Regions from separate parts of the Homo sapiens genome. Here region 2 is linked to region 1. Evidence: promoter capture Hi-C in 16 types of primary human blood cells and fetal thymus (Javierre and others, 2016). All regions are on one chromosome and are shown on one strand. The core of a region is centred on a gene start or on the middle of the fragment in contact, and the rest is flanking DNA. Distances in the headings are between cores, read along the strand shown. Region 1 holds the start of THAP3 (THAP domain containing 3). Region 2 overlaps ICMT (isoprenylcysteine carboxyl methyltransferase).

Region 1 (3,697 bases), core at 986-3,485:
TGTACCAGACGCCATGCGGGAAAAGTGACCCAGGCTCAGGGGTCAGTTGTGTGAAATGCTATGCAATCGATCAGTGTCACAAGGCTCACTAGTGATGTGACAGAGCTCTCGTGGGAGTGGAGGAAACGACTTCAAGAGAGAAGGCGCAGCAACTCCATCCCCAAGTACATACCTGACAGAGGCAAAACAGATAGATGCACTGCAACACAAGTCCCACCAAAACTGGCCAAAACAATGTTTGTTTTGTTTTGTTTTTTGAGACGGAGTCTCGCTCTGTTGCCCAAGATGGAGTGTAGTGGTGCGATCTCGGTTCACTGCAAGCTCTGCCTCCCAGGGTCAAGTGATTCTCCTGCCTTAGCCTCCTGAGTAGCTGGGATTTCAGGTGCGCGCTACCACGCCCGGGTAATTTTTGTATTTGTAGTAGAGAAGTAGAGACGGGGTTTCACCATGTTGGTCAGGCTGGTCTCCAACTCCTGACCTCAGGTGATCCACCCAGCTCGGCCTCCCAAAGTGCTGGGATTACAGGCGTGAGCCACCACGCCCAGCCTCCAGAACCATGTATTTGTCATCCAAAAAATGGGGCCACCCAAATGCCCTTCAATTGTAGAACAAATCAGTAAATTCTGGCACTTGCATTCAATGGAATATTATGTGGCAACGAAAGCGAATGAACTGCAATCCACTCTGATAGCGGGCAGGATAGGGTTCCCTTTGGGCAGGAGAGAGGAGGAGGGCCTGGGAGGGGGTCCAGGTAGGGGTTCTTCTCGGGGGTAGTGATGTTTTATTTCTTATTTTGAGATGAGGTATCGCTCTGTCACCCAGGCTGGAGTGCAGTGGCAAGATTATAGCTCACTGCAGCCTCGAAGCTGGGTTCAAGCGATCCTCCTACTTCAGTCTCCCGAGCAGCTGGGACTACAGGGGCACACCACCTTGCCTGGCTAATTTTTTTAAATTATTTGTAGAGGTAGGGTCTCCTTCTGTTGCCCAGGCAGGTCTCGAACTCCCAGGCTCAAGCGATCCTCCCGCCTCGGCCTCCCAAAGTGCTGGGATGACAGGCTTGAGCCACCGCGCCCAGCTGGTAACGTTTCAGTTCAGTGACGTTCACTTGGGGAAAACTCGCTGGGCTGTATACTTATGATTCGTGCATTTTTCTGCATGTACATTACGTATACTTCAAGCAAAGCATTTATCACAAAACAGAACAATGGGAGCAGAGGGAATGGGAACGATGAGCACAAGCCCCCCTTCGGAATGTGCCCAAAAGTGGGTAGAGAAATGGTGCCGTGACTGGACCTTGGAGAAAGCGCAACTGTGACTAATGACGATTGCTCCTGGGCCGGGCCGGGCCGGGCCGGGCGAGTGCTGGAGCAGACTCCAAAGTCTCCAGCGTCCTCCCGCGACCCTGCAGAGTCCCTTCCCACTGCCAGGACGCCCCTGGGGGTTCCACTCCTCCACTGCACTGCCCAGGTGCCGGGCTCCCTTCAGGACCGCGCGCGGCGGGGGCTGCAGCGACCAGGGACACAGCAAACCCCGGCCGCGGCCCGCTAGTCTGTTCAGCAAACACCTGCTCCGCTCCCTGCACGTCCCGGCCCTGGCCCCGCCAGGTGCGCCGCTGCCCCTCCGTCCGCCACTCCCCGCATCCCCGCGGCGGGCGCGGCGGCGCCAGCCCCTCTGGGCCCAGGACCTCGGCCTGTCCCCGGGCCCAGCGGCCGCACGCCTTTGGGCCTCCCGCCCGGCGCGCCAAGGCCTCGGAGTCGGTCCGCGGGCCCCGGGTCTGGGCCTCCCGCGCCCCCGGGTCCCCGCCTCTTACCGGTGGAAGGTGAGCTGCTTCCTGCGGCTGCTGTAGCGGTTGCAGCACTGCCGGGCCGCGCACGACTTCGGCATCTCGAGCCAGGCCTGGCTGCCCCCAACAAAGATGGCGGCGGCGGCGGGGCCTGCGGAGAGGGGAGGGACCTGCGGGGAGGGGCGGGGCCGCTGGGAGGTGGTGACGGGCCTGGCTCGCCTCCAGGGCGCGCTCATCCTGCCATCCCAGCCACCCGCGTCTCCCCAGGGTCGGACGGGACCCGGGGCGCCACGTAAAGGGGTGCTCCGGGCCCCAATTCAGGCCCGAAACCCCAACTCCTAGCCTTGGGCCTGTGCAAGTCTTACCCCATTCGCCAATGCTGGTCGCCTTTCACCTCCTTGCTTTGAGCACCCAACCAGGACGCATAGCCACTCACAGGCTTGGACAACTGGAAACCAACGGCCAACCCCTCAGTGTTTTTAGGGCTTTGAATTGTGAATAGGTCTGGACTCCTCTGACGTCACTGGAGGTGGTACTAGTTGGCCACTGGTGGTGTCAGTTCAGAGGCCAGACAGCTCACTGCCCTTAAGTTTGGTCACAGGGAACCCCCAAACGTGAAGAGGCAAAAAGGGCAACTGAAGGGGAGGGAGATTCCAGTTCAGGCCTTGCAGAAACTCCGAGGCTGCAGCTTTCTCAAAGCAGCCTATAGGGAAGGCGTCATCTTGTAAGAAGAAAAAAAAAAAAATCGGCCAGGCGCAGTGGCTCACGCCTGTAATCCCAGCACTTTGGGAGGCCGAGGCAGGCGGATCACCTGAGATCAGGAGTTCAAGGCCAGCCTGACCGACATGGTGAAACCCCATCTCTACTAAAAATACAAAAATTAGCCGCACATGGTGGCGGGCACCTGTAATTCCAGCTACTCGGAAGGCTGAAGCAGGAGAATCTCTTGAACCCGGGAGGTGGAAGTTACAATGAGCCAAAATCTCATCACAGCACTTCACAGCCTAGGTGACAAGAACGAAACTCAAGTCTCAAAAACAAAAAAAAAATCAAAAGTAGGCTAACCACTCACTGGGGCTTGAGCTAATCCTCAATCTGATGAAGAAACTGCAAAAACCATTCACATCTACTCGTCCTGTGGTTTGTTTCTAAGGAATTCACCAGCAAGGTACCTTAACACCGTGGGCATTTTCCATCCTGCTAAGTGCACACTGAGACGCTGCCTTCCCAGAGACTTGATGTAATCATGCTTTGGGGAGGTAGCAAGGAGAAAAGAAACACAATTGTCCTTCAGCACAGAACGCAATCGCCTGAACCTTGAATCATGAACCTCAAAGTAGCAATATATTTATTTACAAAATATACAGTTTCACAGAAACAGCTTCGCTTTATACACATAAACTTTAAAATTACACAGAACCATGTAAACGATGTGAAGTGTCTGGCCTGGCCAAAGCCAATGGGAGGGCCTACTTTTGGGGTGACATCCCTCCCTCCCCTCACTTCATTAGCCACCAACCAGGAACCACAGATGGGTCGTGCCTAATTTGCATATAAAGAAGCTGATTGCAGCTGCCCAGCTCAATCTAACACAAAAACCAAGGTGTCCGACTTCTTAGACACCACCCACAGGGACAGATCTGCTAAAAGAACAAAAATGCAATCAAGGAAACAAAATGGAGATGAGTATCACATGCATTCCAGAGGCATCGAACCTTCTAGCACACGTGACAGTTGCCAGGGCCGGCAGTTCCATTCTAAAGTCACATGGATTCTTAAATGCACCTTTAAAAGCTTGTGGAATTTTTTTTTTTCAAAGCAGAAAAACACTTTGGAGCGCTGGTTATTCACGTGGTGAAGACACTGGACAGGCGTTATCTCAGGGTAGATCTTTGGCAAATTCCTCTCCAATGC
Region 2 (3,947 bases), core at 706-3,205, 400 kb after region 1:
GAGAACTCCCACTGTAGGGTATCCCCAGCAAGCTATGCCAGATGTGAGGGTACAGGCCCCGGAGTCACTGACTGGGCCAGTCCTGATTCTGACATTCACTGCTTGGCCTCCTTCTCCTCTCATGTTAAAGTGGGGGCAGCTAGACATAGTGGCACATGCCTGTAGTTCCCCCTACTCTGGAAGCTGAGGCAGGAGGATGGCTTGAGGCCAAGAGTTCAAGTCCAGCCTGGGCAATATAGTGAGACCCTGTCTTTAAAAAATAATAAAATTTTAAAAAAAACAAAGTGGGGATAGTAGCGTGCCCTCAAAGGTTTGCCATGAGAGTTGAACAGGGTAATGATTGTAAAGGGCTTAGCATGGCGCTGGGAACATAGTAAGTGCTCAATAAGAGAAGGTGTGAGAGGTCAGGACATGAGCCTGGCTCTCCGGGTGGCTGTATTGGAGCCTAAAATATATATTCAGAAAACATACAGAAAATGTATGTTGGGGAAGATGCACATCCACAGGGGACCAGTGGGCAGGTGTAGGTGAGTGGTTCCCTGAGGAGCTGGGGAATGCTTTTGGCCTTGAAGGACTGTTTGGCTGGAGATCAGTGGGAAGGATGTTCTTTGTTTTTTTTGAGAGGGAGTTTCGCTCTGTCGCCCAGGCTGGTATGCAGTGGCGATCTCAGCTCACTGCAACCTCTGCCTCCTGGGTTCAAGCAATTCTCCTGCCTCAGCCTCCCAAGTAGCTGGGATTACAGGCTCCCACCACTACGCCCAGCTAATTTTTCTATTTTTGGTAGAGACGGGGATTCGCCATGTTGGCCAAGCTTGTCTCAAGCTCCTGACCTCAGGTGATCTGCCCTCCTTGGCCTCCCAAAGTACTGCAATTAACAGACATGAGCCACCGTACCTGGCCAGGATGTTCTTAAAGGTGGAAGAAAGGGCCAGGAGTTCGAGACCAGCTTGGGCAACATTGTGAAACCCCATCTCTACAAAAAATACAAAAATTAGCTGGGTGTGGTGGCATGTGCCCTTAGTCCCAGCTACTTGGGAGGCTGAGGTGGGAGAATCACTTGAGCCCAAGCAGTTAAGGCTGCAGTGAGCCATGATCACGCCACTGCACTCCACGTGACAGAGTGACAATCTGTCTCGGGGGAAAAAAAAGAGGCAAAGTGGGCACAGCGTGGGGAGGGCAGGAGACTGGGGAAGTGGGCGAAGTGCTGCTCTTCTGGGGTTGGAAACCCAGACTCAGGGGGTGGGGTTCAGTCTCTGGAGCTCTCTGAGCGTGGAGGTAATCTGCTGGAAGGGGCATTTCGGAAGCTGAGTTTTGTGGCACTGTATCTCGTGCTGAAGCAGAGGCTGTGGGTTTAGGAGGCAGAGGCCCAGGCAGCTGTGGTGTAAGCGAATGCATTTGTGGTGGGAGGGTCCTGGGCAGGAAGGCAGCGTGCATGGGACCTCATGTTGGGGAGCTCACACCTGGAGGTGGGGGGCATTGCTGTCACCCCAAGCTGAGGGTTGAAATCCAAGAGGTTGATCTTGTGATTTACAGATCTCTCTCATGTAAGAGGAGCAACAGGAAAGCACGTGAGAAAGGCCTGCAGCACTGAGTGCTCAGGGCTAAGGTGACAGTACTGCTCCCAGAGACCCTGACGGTCTCAGCAGGGCATGGGCACAGAAATCCTCTGGGTATTAGAGACAGACGCCTACCAAAGCACAGGGCGTCATCCCACGGTCACCCTGATGAGCCTGGTGTCTCCCTCTGTTAGGTGATGCTGTGTAACCCCATCTGCGGCGTCAGCTATGCCCTGACAGTGTGGCGATTCTTCCGCGATCGAACAGAAGAAGAAGAAATCTCACTAATTCACTTTTTTGGAGAGGAGTACCTGGAGTATAAGAAGAGGGTGCCCACGGGCCTGCCTTTCATAAAGGGGGTCAAGGTGGACCTGTGACGGGCAGTGGCCCCGGTGACCTTGGGGCCTCCGACCCTGTGCAGCCTGGGACAAAACTGTTTCCGGTTGGCCGCTGCCACATGGATTTTCTTAATCGTTTTATGTCATTAGTCACTCTTCTGGAATGTCACTCAAGACCAAGCGGTCAGAAGGCCTGAGGACCCAAGGCCCCACTGGAGCAGTCTGTCCTTATGCCGAATCAAGGCGGAACATGGGTGAAAGACGAGTAAGGGGCAAATCACAGCAATATTCCACAGCGCCCTCCAGAGTTACCTGGGGAGGACCGAGGCCACACGCCACTGCCCCCGAGGCCAGAGTGTAAGTAAAGGATAACCAGGACTCGCTGGGAGAGATGGACTCTGTCCTCAGCAACACTCCACAGCAGAAAGGGGTAGCAGGTACCCCTTCTTATCAGCGGTAAAAATGCATTTACAACCTTTCATTTAACCGAAAAACACAGACCGCTTTAACCTCTTTATTTCTGTCCCCCACTGCATGAACATCTATACAATTTTAAAAATACTTCCTCATAGGATGCTTTGGCCCTTCATCTATTTAATCATAGCTACATACCTATTTTTTATAAGTAGCAGTACACATTCAAAGGGGTATTCCTAGCTCAATGCTTGGTGTTCTAGTTCAACTTTTATCCTGCAGCAAGTAAGCCTAGATAACTCTACACGATTTGGCTGAGTGGCTTTGTGTGACCGTGGCCCCAGGCCAAGGGGATCATGGCCCTGGCTGGCTTTCCCGGGGGTCTCAGCTCCTGTTGTCAGTGATAGGCGGCTCAAAGGAGCATCAGTTTCTTTTGATCCAAGAAGTGCTTACTGAATGCCTGCCCTGTGCGTGGCCTTAAACATTGAGAAGTGCTGCTCTCCGTTTATTTGGGATTTGATTCTCATTTTACCATAGCTTATATTCTCAATTTCAATGCCAGTCTCAGAACTCTTGTTTTCTGTGTTCTGTTCTCAAAATTACATTGTCCCTCATGTCATTTCAAACTGTTTTCCAAAGGGATTTGAGCATATACAACTACAAATCCAAGCAGATTGACTCTCAAAAATAATCTTAAATACTGCAAATAGTCCCAACTAAGATTCAGTCAGTATGTTTGTTTTGCAAGTTTGGGAGAGTAAGTTGGCTTTGAGTCACACATCGAAGCTTTAAGAGGTGAGACGCTGGCTTCATTCTGGACTAGACAGGAACTTGGCCTCAGCGTGAGATCCTGCCATGCAGTGTTGCGGTGGCACTGAAGAAGTGTGAATGTGAAGGCGGCGTCGGCGCGGGGCCAGAGCACCACTCTGCTGCCCCACCACGCGGCCTGTGAGGAGCCACTAAACCTTTCCGTGCCTAGACCTCCCCATCTGTGGAATGGGGTCAATACCACCTACCTCACAGGGGTGTTGTGAGGACTGAGAAGAACAATGTCAAATGTTTTTAATACTCAGATGTGGGAGCGACATCAATGAAATCTGTACTGTATGAAAGCTACACAAAAATGGGCAGACATTTGGTTAATTGTGCCAGATACCTAAAATGTATGTTCAGAAAAGCATTTTATCAACTCAGAAATATGACTTATTTCTAGATTTCATGGCTTAATGAATTTTTTCATTGTTATATATACCAAAGAGGCTTACGGGTTCATTGATTGGTTTGAAAACCAGACAGACGGCCGGGCGCGGTGGCTCACGCCTGTAATCCCAGCAATTTGGGAGGCCAAGGCGGGTGGATCATGAGGTCAGGCGTTCGAGACCAGCCTGGCCAACATGATAAAACCCCGTCTCTACTAAAAATACAAAAAAATAGCTGGGCGTGCTGGCGGGTGCCTGTAATCCCAGCTACTCAGGAGGCTGAGACAGGAGAATCCTTTGAACCCAGGAGGCGGAGGTTGCAGTGAGTTGAGATCGGGCCTTTGCACTTCAGTCTGGGCAACAGGGCGAGACTCCATCTCAAAAAACAACAACAACAACAAAAAAAACCGGACGGACTTGCCCATCGGCCCTCACGACAC

The links. Contacts are between HindIII fragments. The CHiCAGO score rates a contact against its expected background, and 5 or more counts as called.
Region 2: a contact is called between a fragment that was not itself captured here and the fragment with the promoter of THAP3 in region 1, in 3 of 17 cell types (total CD4 T cells, activated CD4 T cells and naive CD8 T cells). The highest score is 6.4, in total CD4 T cells.

What each region holds. Positions count from the first base shown.
Region 1 is chr1:6,623,406-6,627,102 of GRCh38, reverse strand. THAP3 (THAP domain containing 3) reads right to left here and starts at 2,235. Exons shown (of 6, transcript NM_001195753.2): 1 at 2,149-2,235; 2 at 1,811-1,953. The coding sequence starts at 1,884. It overlaps PHF13 (PHD finger protein 13), which reads right to left. Exons shown (of 4, transcript NM_153812.3): 4 at 3,073-3,697. RefSeq lists a silencer at 1,435-1,844. The HindIII fragment of the contact is 4,820 bases long and covers 1-3,579 here.
Region 2 is chr1:6,223,066-6,227,012 of GRCh38, reverse strand. It overlaps ICMT (isoprenylcysteine carboxyl methyltransferase), which reads left to right. Exons shown (of 5, transcript NM_012405.4): 5 at 1,751-3,947. The coding sequence ends at 1,933. Among named protein-coding and RNA genes, the nearest start is that of ICMT, 11 kb to the left of the region's middle. The HindIII fragment of the contact is 2,283 bases long and covers 814-3,096 here.